2 separate regions of the Homo sapiens genome follow, and region 1 is linked to region 2. The links are contacts of gene promoters, found by promoter capture Hi-C in human tissues and cell types (Jung and others, 2019). All regions are on one chromosome and are shown on one strand. The core of a region is centred on a gene start or on the middle of the fragment in contact, and the rest is flanking DNA. Distances in the headings are between cores, read along the strand shown.

Region 1 (7,271 bases), core at 3,604-6,103, 340 kb after region 2:
TTTTTACATGTTGCTATAAAGTTTTTATCTAGCTATTACTTGGGCCTTGCAAATGAAAAACAACTTAGTTACAGAAGTTACAAAATAAACAAATTGCACCAGAAAGAAAATGCTGATTTGGAAAATATATGGTATGAAGCAAAGCATAAGTTTAGGATGTGGCTTTTGGGGTAGTGGTTGGGGGCAGGAAAGTTGGGAGTGGGAGGAGAAAGGGAGAAAGAATAGGAATGAATTATAAAGGCACCACATCTTGAAAATCTGTGACCGAAGAAAAGTAAGAGCATGCTAAGATTATATCCTTGATATTGAACACAATATCATTATTACTCTCATGTGAAGAGACTGAAATGCTAAAGTAATCAACTAGTGATTCTAGAAATTTATGTAATTTGGATGCCTTTGTGGTGCATAATAATTAGCAAGGCTGAATAAGAGTCTACCCTAATTTATGTAGATATTCCCCTCCCCCAAATAATTGTGGGAATTATTTGAATAAATTAGCAGTTAAATAGAAGACATTTAAATTTTCATAGTTACATTTTTTTATTAGACTAGCTATCTATGTTTAACTATCAGTTAATCAGTTATATGTGTTTATAATTTTATAAAGGAGTTCAGAAAGGTGAATATAAGGTTTAAAAACCACAAATCCATCATGGGGCCAACCAACCATAGAGAACGTTACTGTTTAGTGGCAAGGAAACAGAAAATTTTTTCATTCTACTTTTTCAGATATTACAATGATTAAACAATTCTATTGACTAACTCTAATTGTTTTAACTTCTGCTTTATACTGCCAAGCAATGTTTTTGCTTTGAACTCCTGTTATTGGGAGAGGGGATCTAAATGTTTCAAAATCTAAGAAAAGGCCTTAATTTGATTTAATTTTTTAAGAAGATAAAGATGAGAGTAATTAGAGCTAATGAGGTTCCAGTTTATAAATATTATTGTGTTAGAGGAATAACAGCTTTAGGAAAACATAAACATCCTAGTTTGTATTCCCAAGGAGTTCTGTTTTGTATTTTTATTTTTTGAGACAAGGTCTCGCTCTGTTGCCCAAGCTGGAGTGCAATGACTGGATCATAGTTCAATGTAACTCAAACTCCCAGTCTCAAATGATGCTCCATCCTTGGGCTTCCAAGGTGCTGGGATTAGCAGGCTGAGCCACAGTGCACAGCCTAATTTTTTGATTCACATTTATCTAGTCTTCATTTCCAAATATTAGTCTTTAAGAGGCCATAAAGTAAAGGAAATAACTAGCTTTTCACCTAAATTAGACTTCAGAATGCTAACAATGAAAGAACAAGTTTCATATCAAAACTCGCTCATCAATAGCAGGGAACCAATATCTTGAAATAACTATAAAAGGAATTAAATCACAGGTTATTGAAATTAGAATGCTGTTTCAAATATACTTGATCAATTAACCACTTGAATGCACATCTCCCAAGTGTAAAAATTTTAATTTGAAAACTCAAAAGCTTATATGGTAATCAAATGTAGAAATAAAAATGGCAAAGTATGTGAGAAATACTTGAGACTTGTTTAAGGAGAAAAACCTGAATGTAATATTTCCATTTGAGACTAAGAGCAAAATCAAGATATAGACAAACAGATGAAATATTTTAGAGGCAGAACATTATGAATAGTGAAAAAATAACCTTTTCCTTGAAAATGGACTACAATTAAGAGCTAAAAATCCTAAATTGTTTCCACATTTTAGTAGACTTAAGCAGATCACAACAGATCAGTACTAAAACTACACTTCTAGAGTGTTAATTATATGACTAAATTGACATATAAGTGTCAGTTGCTGAGCTCCTAAGTGTTTAAGTTGATCACTTGAAAATTGAAGTTCAAGGTCATTTTTCATGTGCGCATCTGAGACCTGTAATTTAGAATAGTGAGTTATAGTATAAGGTGCTAAAAATAATGTCTTTAAGGGGATAGTAATGTCATAGTCTCCCAATTTTCCTCATGAGAAAGTTCAAGAATCTGAAAAAATAACCTCTATTCCCCATGGCATACATAGATGAAGTATTGTATTAGTCAGGGTTCTCCAAAGAAACAGAACCGATAGAATGTATATGTATATAGAAAGAGACTTATTATAAGGAGTTGCTTCACAAGATTATGGAGGCTGACAAGTCCCAACATCTGCAGGGTGAGATGGCAAGCTGGAGACCCAGGAGAGTTGATGCTGTAGTTCCAGTTTGAGTCCAAAAGCCTGAGAACCAAAAAAGCTGATGGTGTCATCCAATCTGAAGACTGAGAGGCTGGAGGAACAGAAAGAACTGATGTTTCATTTTGAAGATAGGTATGCAGAAAATTTTCCTACTAAGGAGAGGGTCAGTCTTTTGTTATATTCAACTGATTGGATGAAGCCCACTCACATTAGGGAGGGTTAATTTGCTTTACACAATCTACCGATTTAAACTAATCTCACCCCAAAACATCCTGACAGACACACACAGAGTAATGTCTGATCAAATATCTGGGCACCCTGTGGCCCAGTCAAGTTGACACATAAAATCAGCCATAACAAGTATGATGACTGGAGTAACTGATCACACTTTCTCCACTCAGATGTCCATTGCATTGAAGCAGTAGCAGTAGCACAGGTGGAGGGAGGAGTTACAACATGGTCTAAGTTGTCAAACTACCTGTGTTTGAATCCTGTCTCCTTAACTTATTCCTGGTGATCTTGGACAAGTTTTTGCTACATGTTTCTGATTCTTGATTAGTAAATTACGGATAACGATGGGTCCTACCTCATACTATTATTAATGTTGTGAAGAATAAATAAGACATTACATATAAACCACCTAGAAGAATAACTAGCACATAGAATGGATTCCCCAATAACGCATTATAGTACACAAAATTCATTGAAATGAAATTCTTTTCAAAAATCATTGCTTCAACATATTTTCCTGCCTTTAAAAATCATTGCTTCAAAATAATAAGAACCATGTATGACAAACCCATAGCCAATATCCTACTGGATGGTGAAAAGTTGAAAGCACTCCCTCTAAGAACCAGAATAAGACAAGAATGTTCACTCTCACCACACCTATTCAACACAGTACTGAAAGTCCTAGCCAGAGCAATCAGGCAAAAGAAAGAAAGAAAGAAATAATATCCAAATTGGAAAAGAGGAAGTCAAATTATATGTTTGCTGATGACATGACCGTATACCTAGAAAACCCTAAAGGCTTCTCCAAAAGACTCCTAGACTTAATATATGACATCAATAAAGTTTCAGAACACAAAATTAATATCCAAAAATCGGAAGCATTTCTGTAAACGAATAACTTTCGACCTGAGAACAAAATCAGTAACTCAATCTCATTTACAATGGACACACACACACACTCAATAAAATACCTAGGAATACATTTAACCAAGGAGGTGAAAGATCTCTACAAGGAGAACTACAAAATGCTGATAAAAGAAATCATAGATGACACAAACAGATGAAAAAACATCCCATGTTCATGGCTTGAAAGAATTGATATTGTTAAAAGGACCATACTGCTCAAAGCAGTGTGCAGAGTCAATGCAATCCCTAATAAAATACCAATGTCATTTTTCACAGAATTAGAAAAAAAAACCCTAAAGCTCATGAAGAACCAAAAAAAGGCCTGAATACCCAAAGCAATCCTAAGCAAAAATAACAAAGCTGGAAGCATCACATTGTTCCTCTTCAAATTACACTACAAGGCTATAATTATTACAACAGCATATTACTGGTACAAAAATAGACCTATAGATCAATGAAACAAAATAGAGAACACAGAAATAAAGCCACTTACCTACAACCAACTGATCTTTGATAAAGTCAACAAAAATAAACAATGGGGAAATGATAGCCTATTCAATAAATGATGTTGGGAAAATTGGCTAGCAATATGCAGAAGAATGAGATTGGACCCTTATCTCTCACCATATGCAAAAATTAACTCAAGGTGGATTAAAAAGTTAAATGTAAGACCCAAAATTATAAAAATCCTAGAAGAAAACCTGGAAAGAACTCTCGTGGACATTGACCTAGGGAAAGAATTTATGATGAAATTTCCCAAAAGCCAATGAAACAAAAACAAGAATAGACTAATTGGACTTAAACTAAAAAGCTTTTGCACATTTGGGAGGCTGAGGCAGGCAGATCACGAGGTCAGGAAATTGAGACCATCCTGGCTAACACAGTGAAACCCCGTCTCTACTGAAAATACAAAAAATTATCTGGGTGTGGCAGTGGGCGCCTGTAGTCCCAGCTACTCAGGAGGCTGAGGCAGGAGAATGGCATGAACTCGGGAAGCAGAGCTTGCAGTGAGCCGAGATCACACCACTGCACTCCAGCCTGGGCGACAGAGCGAGACTCTGTCTCAAAAAAAAAAAAAAAAGCTTTTCACAGCAAAAGAAATAATCAACAGAGTAAATGGACAACCTACAGAATGAGAGAAAATATTTACAAATTATGCTTCTAACAATAGACTAATATCCAAAAATCTACAAGGAACTCAAACCACTCAACAAGAAAAAAGCAAACAACCCCATTAAAAAATGGGCAAAAGACAGGAACAGACATTTCTCAAAAGAAGACTACAAGTGACCACCAACTGCATGAAAAAATGCTGAACATCACTAATGATCAGAGAAATATAAATTAAAATCGCAAATGAGATACCATTTCACATTAGTCAGCATGGCCATTATTAAAAAGTCAAAAAATAATAGATGTTGGTGTAGATGTGGACAAAAGGTAATGCTTATACATTGTTGGTGGGAATGTAAGTTAGTTAAATCTCTATGGAAAACAGTTTGGAGTTTCTCAAAGGACTAAAAATAGAGCTACCATTTGACACAGCAATCTCACTGCTGGGTATCTATTCAAAGGAAAAGAAATTATTCGTTCCAGCCTTCCCTTCTCCTCTCCATGTAAGAAAAGCTATGTATTTGGAAAACTGGATTTTGGGTTTTGCTTATATCAAGTCAGGCAAATGTGCAAGAGGAGGGAGAGAAAGAAAGGAAGTGGGGGAAAAACAAAATTTTTTGAGCTGAGTATCCGGGTTGAGTGAGTCGTGGGGAAACGAAGGTCTAGAGGATCTGCAAAGTGTAGGGGTACTACCTGGAGTAGGCTGGCCTGTTCTTCACACTACATCTCATCTCTTCCTGCTTTAGGCTCCCCTCCTGCTTTATCCTACTGCCTTTGATTTTGCTGAAGTGTGAGTTCAAACTTTAGTGCCTTGCTGTACTTGCATTTGTCCCCTCATTTCTTTGAACAGACTTACAGCTAGATTCCCTCCTGGCTTGGTACAGTCACTGATCTCTGTTATTTAATGAACCATCTCTGGTATGTCTTCAGAAATGACCTTCCTCCTATGACCCCCCACCCCAATAATGCTAGCAGCCTGAGCTGGGAGTGGAGCACCCAGGCCTCACCTCCCAAGCCCTGGCCTCAGGTGTGCTGGGTGTTAGAGTAAGAACAAAGCTTAGTTGATGTTAATTACTTGATAAGTTTGTACAATAACGATATCTTATATGTATTGTTACCTGTGGCTTACATTTACAATTATTTTCTGATATCTTACTATAAGACAAATAGCGTTTAGGATGATTAAAGGTGAGAGAAGCTGAAGGGCAAAATATTAGTCAAGTGGTCAATTACAAAGGCTTATAATAGGAATGGCTCCAAATGGAAATTGGTGTGTCAGAAAGATACCTATAAAGAAAACGAGCAAGGTCTGGTAACCACAAAGATAAGGGGGGAGGCAAAATAGTACTGTGAGGTTTTAATAAAAATCTCACAAAACCTGTTGTAAGATTTTACAAGGTGTAATGGCAGGACAGTGGCATAACTGTGGAATATGATGGCAGAGGGTGGTAGATTTGGTAGAGACTAAAACTGATTCAACAAAATTTGTGTTTGCCATGGTCAGTTTGACCCAATGATGGTAATATGTTGCAAAATTGGGTCTATGTTGGAAGTAGAAAAGAAGATAAGCAGATTTATTTGATTATCTTTCTAAATATTCTCTGAAACCACAGGATGAGAATGTTCCTTCAGTAGAGAAAAATGAAAACACTATAGTTGCTTCAATGCTATGCCTCTGAAGAGATGGCCAAACAATTCTGATTTATGGAGAGCTACATAAAATCTTTTTTAAAAAGATACCATGTTTTCTAAAATTCCAACAAAGGCAAGAAAGCAAAATAAACTTTAGCTGACCTTTTGCAAGAACTATCATTAAAAGAGGTTTCCGGAGTTAGTTGAGGGCAGTTTGTTTATATGAGGGAAATGGCCATGGATTATCACCTACTGTGTGAGTAAATGTCTATTTTTTATTCAGATTTCAGAAATAAACTGTTGCTCATGCCTAATAATGTCTTCTATGAGGTTTAACAATCTAGGTTAGGGAGAGGATCAATTTCACAAGCTAAGAAAAATCAAATGTTATGCCAAGTCAGGACAGATCCTTCTGAAGTGTTGATATTGATTCTACGGATTACAGGACTAACTTGCATGCTAAATAAGGTAGAATCTTTCAGAGTTTCAGTCTTGCACTCAGATTCTAGTGTTTTCTGATGGTAACACATTTGGAAGGGAGAGTCAAGTTGCTGGGTTTAGCTTTGACTTATTCCTTTGCATGATCTTTGAAGTTCATAAAGGGATATCTATTTTAAAAGATTTTCAAAATGACATTTATTACGTGTGTCTGTGTGCAAGGCTTTATGTTGGGTGCTTTTGCTAAAGGAGTAAAGGTTTTAAAAATACCATTCTTTTACAGTGTAAACAGGAAAGATTTTGAGTGGGTGGATTAGTCAGCGGACAGAACAGGGGAAAGCATTTGGGGATGAAGACTTATTATGGAAGTACAAAGTGAGAGAAATGACATTTCTTGGCTCTGTTCCCAGGATTGTTTGCTGGACGCAGTTTGCATGTGAAACGGGCAGCATTCACACCCAAAAGTACCACCTTCTAATCAACCGGTAGTGCTTTTAAGTTTACGTGTGTTAGTGTTTCAAAAATCAAAATTCCAAAGGGCTTTATTAACCTTTGATACACTTGTCAAAGGCAAACATAAAAAAAAAAAAGCAATCCCGAAGAGCCTCACCATTTTCCTTCCTGTTATCTATGTAAGATGAATATGCTTTTCCAAAAGCAAATCAGTAACTTTTTCTTACGTTGTTTTGAAGACTAACATGGCTCACTCTCAATTATCAAATCTGTCCTGAAATAATTATCAGTGAGTCATGAAATGACCTTCTTA
Region 2 (6,684 bases), core at 1,385-3,884:
TCTGCTAGGTTGGAGTAGGTGACAACTGACTTTAGATTTGGATGATAAATACGATTTGAGTGCTCAGAAAGAGCTGGAGGAGGTGCTATATGTGGCAAAAGATAAGCACATTTTAAACTGCCTTATACTTTTAAACAAATAATAATAAATCAGCATTTACTGTAATAAAAATACTTTATCAGGCCATCTCACACAGTTCCCAAAGCTTATGAGGAAAAATTTAAGTCAATTTCCTTTTAATAAATATTATTTAACGACTGGAACATTTAGAGAAACATACATAAGCAGGCCGTGGCAGCACGTCACTCAGGGACAATAATCTAACAGGGAATTTCAGACAACCTAGCCTAGACTAAATGCTGGGCAGCACCTGGCAGACAAGGTGGCAAAGCCCCTATAAATAGTGATGATTCACTAACATGACATAAATCAAGATTTTAACTCACCAAAAACTAACATTTTGATTTAAAAACACAAATCAGTGCCATTAAAATTCATCAGCGGCCCCTAGCACATGAGTAATGAGATCATATCAACTTATATCATGTAACTAAAAGGAAAAGGTGGTTTTCTAAATGGTAATTCAGATTGGACAAATAACACACTGTATCAAGTTTTGTAGCTCTAGGCCATATTTTGCTAAACACAAAGGTACATTATGCATGACTAAAGAAAACAGTGAAAATCAGAGCAATTAATTTCCCAGCTATGTTTCCCATAAAAAGACATCACTACTATGATCTGCTTATAACACAAACTTTTTTGCATTGCACAATGATCTAAGTGTGTAATAACTTACATATTTCACTAAGATGTAACATCCTTCAAAACATCCTTATAATGAAAGTTTTCCAAAAACATTATTGATCACCGGCATGTCTCATGTTTTAAAATTACTGACGAATCCTTTACTATTTTCTTTACAGCTAGAAATAATTCTTCTTGATCACTAGAGTGTAAAGGGGTATAAAGTACAAAGACTGAATATTTTCTTAAATACTAACATCCCAGTTGACACAGGACATTTCCCATAACTTGCCCAAAACAATAATTAGGAGAGTTGTCACTGGAATCCTAAAAATATATGTAAGAAAACAGAGATTCGTTGGCATCAATTTAGCACAGCAAGAGATTTCCATTAAGTGCTTTTTCAAATTATTTGCAAACACTTTTTAGCTGAACCCTCTCATTTCCAGTGGAGCCTTTTATGTTTCTTTGCAGAACTCAAGAACCTTTTCTCAGGTGGCTCTGCTTTGCTGCAGGTAAGTTTGGTATTAACACATTTTCTTTATCTGTTGGAGGTAGTGAAACGGCTCTCTTCCTCCGTTGTCTTTCACTGGCACCTTTGTGGCCGCTCGTAGTCACTGACCTCACCTTGCTGGAAAGGTGGCTAAGAAAAGAGCAGTTTCTAATAACTCAAGGGAACTGCAGCGTTTCCATTCAGAACAAACAGCAGGACCCAGCTGGAGGGGTGCAGCTCTAAAGAAGTAAGACCCGCACCACAGCGGACAACTTCCAGAGGCTCTTCTCCAACACCGCCAAACACAGGCGGAAACACGGAGCCTGGACAGAAAGAGGGACGAGCAGAGAGATGGGCGCAGAGAGCAAGAGACAGGGGAGCCAGGAAGACCGGGAGCGAAAGCCTCTTGAGAGAGAGAGAGAGACCAAAAGATTGTGCGAAAGTGACAGAGGGAAGAGGATGAAGGGACAGAGGAGGGACACACTGGGAGAGCCAGAGCAGGCGGTGGGGAGAGGGAGACAGACGCACGGAAGGAAAGAGAGACCGGGGGGAGAGGCAAAGGATAGCAATAAGGAGAGGAAGGGAGAAAGGAAGAAAAGGGAGAGAATGAAAGACCCAGAACTTGAGAGAGAGGCATAGAGAGAGAGAAGCAGGAGAGAGAGGAGAAGAGACAGGCAACTGAAGCAGAGACGGAGCCCAGTCCAAGGCGCCGGGACCAGCCCGCTGCGCACTTTCCCCCACGGCAAGGCTGGGTCTCGGGAGGCGTCCGGGGCAGGTGGGTGCCTGCGGGTCCCGCCTGGGCTGGCCCTGGGCCCCCGCCCCGCCGGGCTCCCTCCCATTTCCCGGATTCCGCGACTGCCCTCAGCTCGCCCTCCCGCCCCATCCCTCCGCTCGCAGGTCCGACTCCCTGCCTTGGGGCGTCCCTACAGCCCGAAGCACGTGTCCCGCCCGCCGCCGCCGCTGCCCCGACTCCTCGCCTGCGCAGGCACGAGGCCTCGGGGTCCCGGCAGAGCCGCCCGCGCACAAAGCCGAGGCGGCCACCGCCTGACCCCCTCCCCGCCGCCGCCACCGCCCCACGGCCGCGCAGCCCGCCCTCGCTCTCGCCCTCTCCCTCGCGCGCTCCGTCCTGCCTAGGGCGACCGCCGCCCAGCTCCGCACCCAGCCGCTACCCGTCCCGCGCCGCCCCTCGCTCTGCCCGGCTCTCGCCGGCTCGGCCGCCTCCCGCGCGCTCGGGAACTCGGCCACCCGCAGGGGACGGGGCCCCGCCGCGCGCGCCTTACCCGCGGCTGCGCTCCCGGCTCCCGCGTCCTCAGCGCCGCGGTCTCCGCACTGCCCGGCGTCCCGCGAGGCCCCGCCGACTCCGCGCCCCGCGCCCGGCTGCGCCGTCAACTTCTGGCCGCCGCGGCCGCTCCGCCGCCGCCGCCGCCGCCACCGCGGGACTTTTTTTTTTTTTTTTTTTTTTTTTCCCTCTCGCTCCTCGGCTGCCTCTGGAATTTTTTTTTTTCACTTGCCCTCTCCAGCTCCCACTAGTGATTGGAGACTGAGAGCCAAGTACTTAGCGGAGGGATTACACTTCTCAACGCACTTGGAGCGGCCCCAGCGCCGCCGCCTGTGTGCGGAGTGCGGAGCCGACTTGGGGAGCGGCGGGGTGCGGGCCGGAGGCAGCCCGGGTACAGGGGTGCGCTTCCCAAGCCCCGTCCGCTGCTCAGAGCATCCCCAAGATTTCCCTCATGGGTCCTGTCCTGGTTGTTTAAGAAGGTTTCCAGAAAACCTCCTGGTTTGAAGAACAAAGATTCGTGGAATTATTGTACCTTGAGAGCTGGAAAGGGCTCGCAGAGATGATATAATGTCGTGGATTTCAACTTTTCGGGGCCATAGACACTTTTCAGAAATTGATAAAACGTTGACACACCTTGTAAAAAATGAACACATTAAAATTAAGCCTGCAGTTTGAGGTGGGGGTTTTAAGAATCTTGAAATATATACAGTTGAGCGTCCAAGGGAAATGAAATATTTCCCTTCTACATATTTTTTGAAACCGTTAAACGAAAACAACCACCAAAAAATTAAAAATAAAAAAATAAAACCCAAAAGAGAAAACCCATTCCATTTGTATTTGATGACAGTTTACAGTTAGTCGTGTTTCTTTTGGAAAAGTATGTAACGTCTTATACTTTGTGGTCTCCTTGCTAAGTCTTTAAGTGTTGAAACACTTTCTAAGTGGGTAAATATAAAGTAAGCTAGTTCACAGTCAGAAATTTGGGGAGAATAGTTAACCTCTTTAAAATCAGCCATTTTGCCAACTCTATTTCCCAGGGAGATATCTCGTGACTTCCAAATACTCTTTTCCTTTCAATACCTTTCAGCTTCCCACTCTCCAGCATTACTTATTTTCTCCTTCTGTAAAATTTTTTTCCTCCAAAATATTGACAAACAGTCTCTGGTCACCACCAAGTGTGTGATCTAAGTCATTTTTTTTTTTAACAGTTTTTCACCCTGAAGTAACTTTCTTCCAATTTTCTTCATATCTATTTCTATATTCAATTCTTAGCCTACTATTTTCTTTCAACTACTCCCTTTTCTTAAATTGTTTCTATTAAATCTTTTTTAAACATTAAATGTAATCTTTTTGCACTTATCAATAAAAAATTCATTTGTGTATCAATTTATTTTATGCAGCTTGCACTTAAAGCAGGCGGTGCCCCCAGTGTTTATTGAGTGTATGAAGATGTGGTCATGTTTTTTCTATAAAAGCAATGTTAGAGTCTCCACAAAGGTCTTTTTGCCCCATGATATATCTGCATTGTGATTTCTAATGCCAAACTGGAAGAAGAAAGGTATCTGAAAGAAAATTTCCAAAACAAGTGAAATTAGTCATTGACATCATCTGACCTTCCTTATTCAACCACTGTTCCAGTCCCCAGTACCAGTACTCATCCTCTTGCCCCAAGAATTCCAAGATAAAATCCATTCATTTTACTCTCATCCCAATTCTTCTCTGATACCCTCACTCCCACCCCTTCCCTTTTCCACCTCCTTTCTTTCAAAACAATAAAGCATATGACTACCTAAATTACCTTCTACCTGGTCCTCAATCCAATTTTTCATCATCTCCATCCTCATATTAACTAAGTGTTTTGTGGGGAGAAGGGGGCTTGAAGACACGGAAATTATAACTTCTACACCATTAAAATAAAAGACAAAGCAAGGAATTATGAGCTATTATGTAATTAACTAAAAATAATAAATTATCGAAAATGAAATGTGAGTTTAGAAATATGAGTTTTAAATATTGAAAATAAGATACCAAATTATAATTCATTACAGAGCTTATGATTGTATACATAGAAAAGCTTAGAGAATTTACTGGAAATCCATAGAACTAAAAATGTAATGTGTTGATCATTGTCAATATCTCATCAACATTAAGCAAGTTTAAAGAGGAAAGAAACCTGATTGAATCTATCCTTTCTACTGTGTGAATTACTGATAATTTGTATTTGACAGCTGTATAATCTCCCTTAGAATTGGAGCACTCATAAACTGCAGTGAAATAAAGCAGACATTATGCAGAATGTTTTGGAGCTAGTGGTATTGTCACCTGTATCTTTTCAGAAGTTGCACTAAGGATTATCTTTCCTTGGCTTAACTCCTCCATTCAGCAAATATCCTTCAGAGAATCTGCTGGGTATAAGATACTGATTCAGGGAATACAGGCATCTCTGGATAGAGAAGACACAGATTCCACTTCAATCAACTTGCAGACAAGGAGACAGATTTTTTTAAATACCTTGTTTAAATATATTTTTTAAAATTCCAAATCAGAGAACAAAGGAAATTCCTGTAGGTCTTTGGGATGAAAAAAAAAAAGCACTCCAGGTGGGAGAAAATGGGGTACAGGGGAAACTGTGTTTGAGGTGGGCCTTAGATGGTAACATTTCTGTAAGCAGGAATGGGGAGCCTTGGAAAGAAGCTATTCAAAAATCAACATTTTTGAGTGCCTATGACAAACCAAGTCCTGGTATTTGAGAGGCAAACTCTGTCCATTCCTTCTTGAAACTCATAATACAGAAGAAACAAGATACTTAAAAAATATATAGAACTTTCTATGAGAAGTGCATTAATGCATGAACACACAATTTTTGGAGCATAGAAAAATGAACTATTCTGCCTAGAAATCTCAGGAAAACCTTCCTAGAGTAGTCACATTTCATAAGGGTCCTGAAGGATCTTTAGAGATCAAAGCGGGGCTAGAAAGAGAATAAACATCCTAAGCAAGGAGAACCCTATGAAAAAGCATGGCGTGTTTAGAGAACAGCTGGTATCTCAGTGCTGCTATCCAAGTGATGAGGAGAAGGTGCAGCAGATGACTCTCTTAGGCTAAGCAGGGTTCAGAAATAACCTTCTCAAACATACTAATGAAATTGATTTTTTCCTTATTAGGTAATGGAGAAGCACTGGAGATTTGTAAGCCACGGAGTCAAATGGTGGACTGGGATTTTCAGGAGATCATTTAGAGGTACCTGGAGAGGGAGAAATGAAAGCACAAAACTAATTAAGGGTCTGTCATTGAAAGAAGGAATACTTGAACCAAGACAATGGTGTAACTACCAAGACAGCAGACTCAAAAGACACTTCCTATATTGCTAACTGTAGCCTTGGATTTTGGTGCCTTTAAAGGCCATAGGAGCCAGATGTGGTGGCATATGCATGTAGTCACAGATACTCAGAGGCAGAGGTGGGAGGATCCCTTGAGTTCAAGACCAGCCTGAGCAACATAGTGAGACCCCCACATGCCCACACCATATCTAAATAAATAAATAAGTAAATAGAGACCACTGGGGGGAGAAGAATAGAAAGGAGGGGCTTCATTGGGTGCATGACAAATTTTAGCAAAAGCAAGATTTTTTTCCCCTCTGCTTCTACATAAGGAAACCAGGGCAGTGTATATAGGACTCTCAAACACTTGCAGGCATATTTCCCATTAAGAAAGACATTTGCCCAGGCCCACTGGAATTGAACTATTTGGGGAATTTATAAGTAGAGAAATAGGACAGACCTGGGGACACAGCTTGCTTCTATGCTGTCAGCCTCCCCTTCTCCTTCCTCTTCATGGATATCCTCACTCCTACCACTTTCCTTTTCCACCCCCCTCTTCTCTCAAAACTGAAGGTAAAGGATTTGACCACCATTAATATATTGTCATAAATCAAGGCATACAATGCTAAGTAACATTCTAGAACATGTGCTTTTAAACTATTTCTCTCTAATTGTGGAATAAAAGTCTGCCTCTTTTCAGGTATGGTATTTTAGGAATCAGGTGAAGGAAATATTTTTCAGTGTAAGAAAGAGATCTTTTTCTTGCTCTTCTGTTCCTACTGCTGTGGTTGTCTTATTGTCCACTGCTACATGTTGACTCTACATATACAAAATAAGTGGTTAAG

The links. The method cuts DNA at HindIII sites, captures the fragments that hold promoters and counts their contacts. A contact is called where the count stands out against the background at its distance.
Region 1: a contact is called between a fragment that was not itself captured here and the fragment with the promoter of BMPR1B in region 2, in 1 of the 25 tissues and cell types used here (mesenchymal stem cells).

Annotation. Positions count from the first base shown.
Region 1 is chr4:94,412,424-94,419,694 of GRCh38, reverse strand. No RefSeq gene overlaps it. Among named protein-coding and RNA genes, the nearest start is that of PDLIM5, 36 kb to the left of the region's middle. RefSeq lists a silencer at 6,723-7,017. The HindIII fragment of the contact is 4,092 bases long and covers 2,808-6,899 here.
Region 2 is chr4:94,753,905-94,760,588 of GRCh38, reverse strand. BMPR1B (bone morphogenetic protein receptor type 1B) reads right to left here and starts at 2,634. Exons shown (of 13, transcript NM_001203.3): 1 at 2,521-2,634. It overlaps BMPR1B-DT (BMPR1B divergent transcript), which reads left to right and starts at 3,056. Exons shown (of 3, transcript NR_121610.1): 1 at 3,056-3,195; 2 at 5,684-5,759. The HindIII fragment of the contact is 6,502 bases long and covers 1-6,099 here.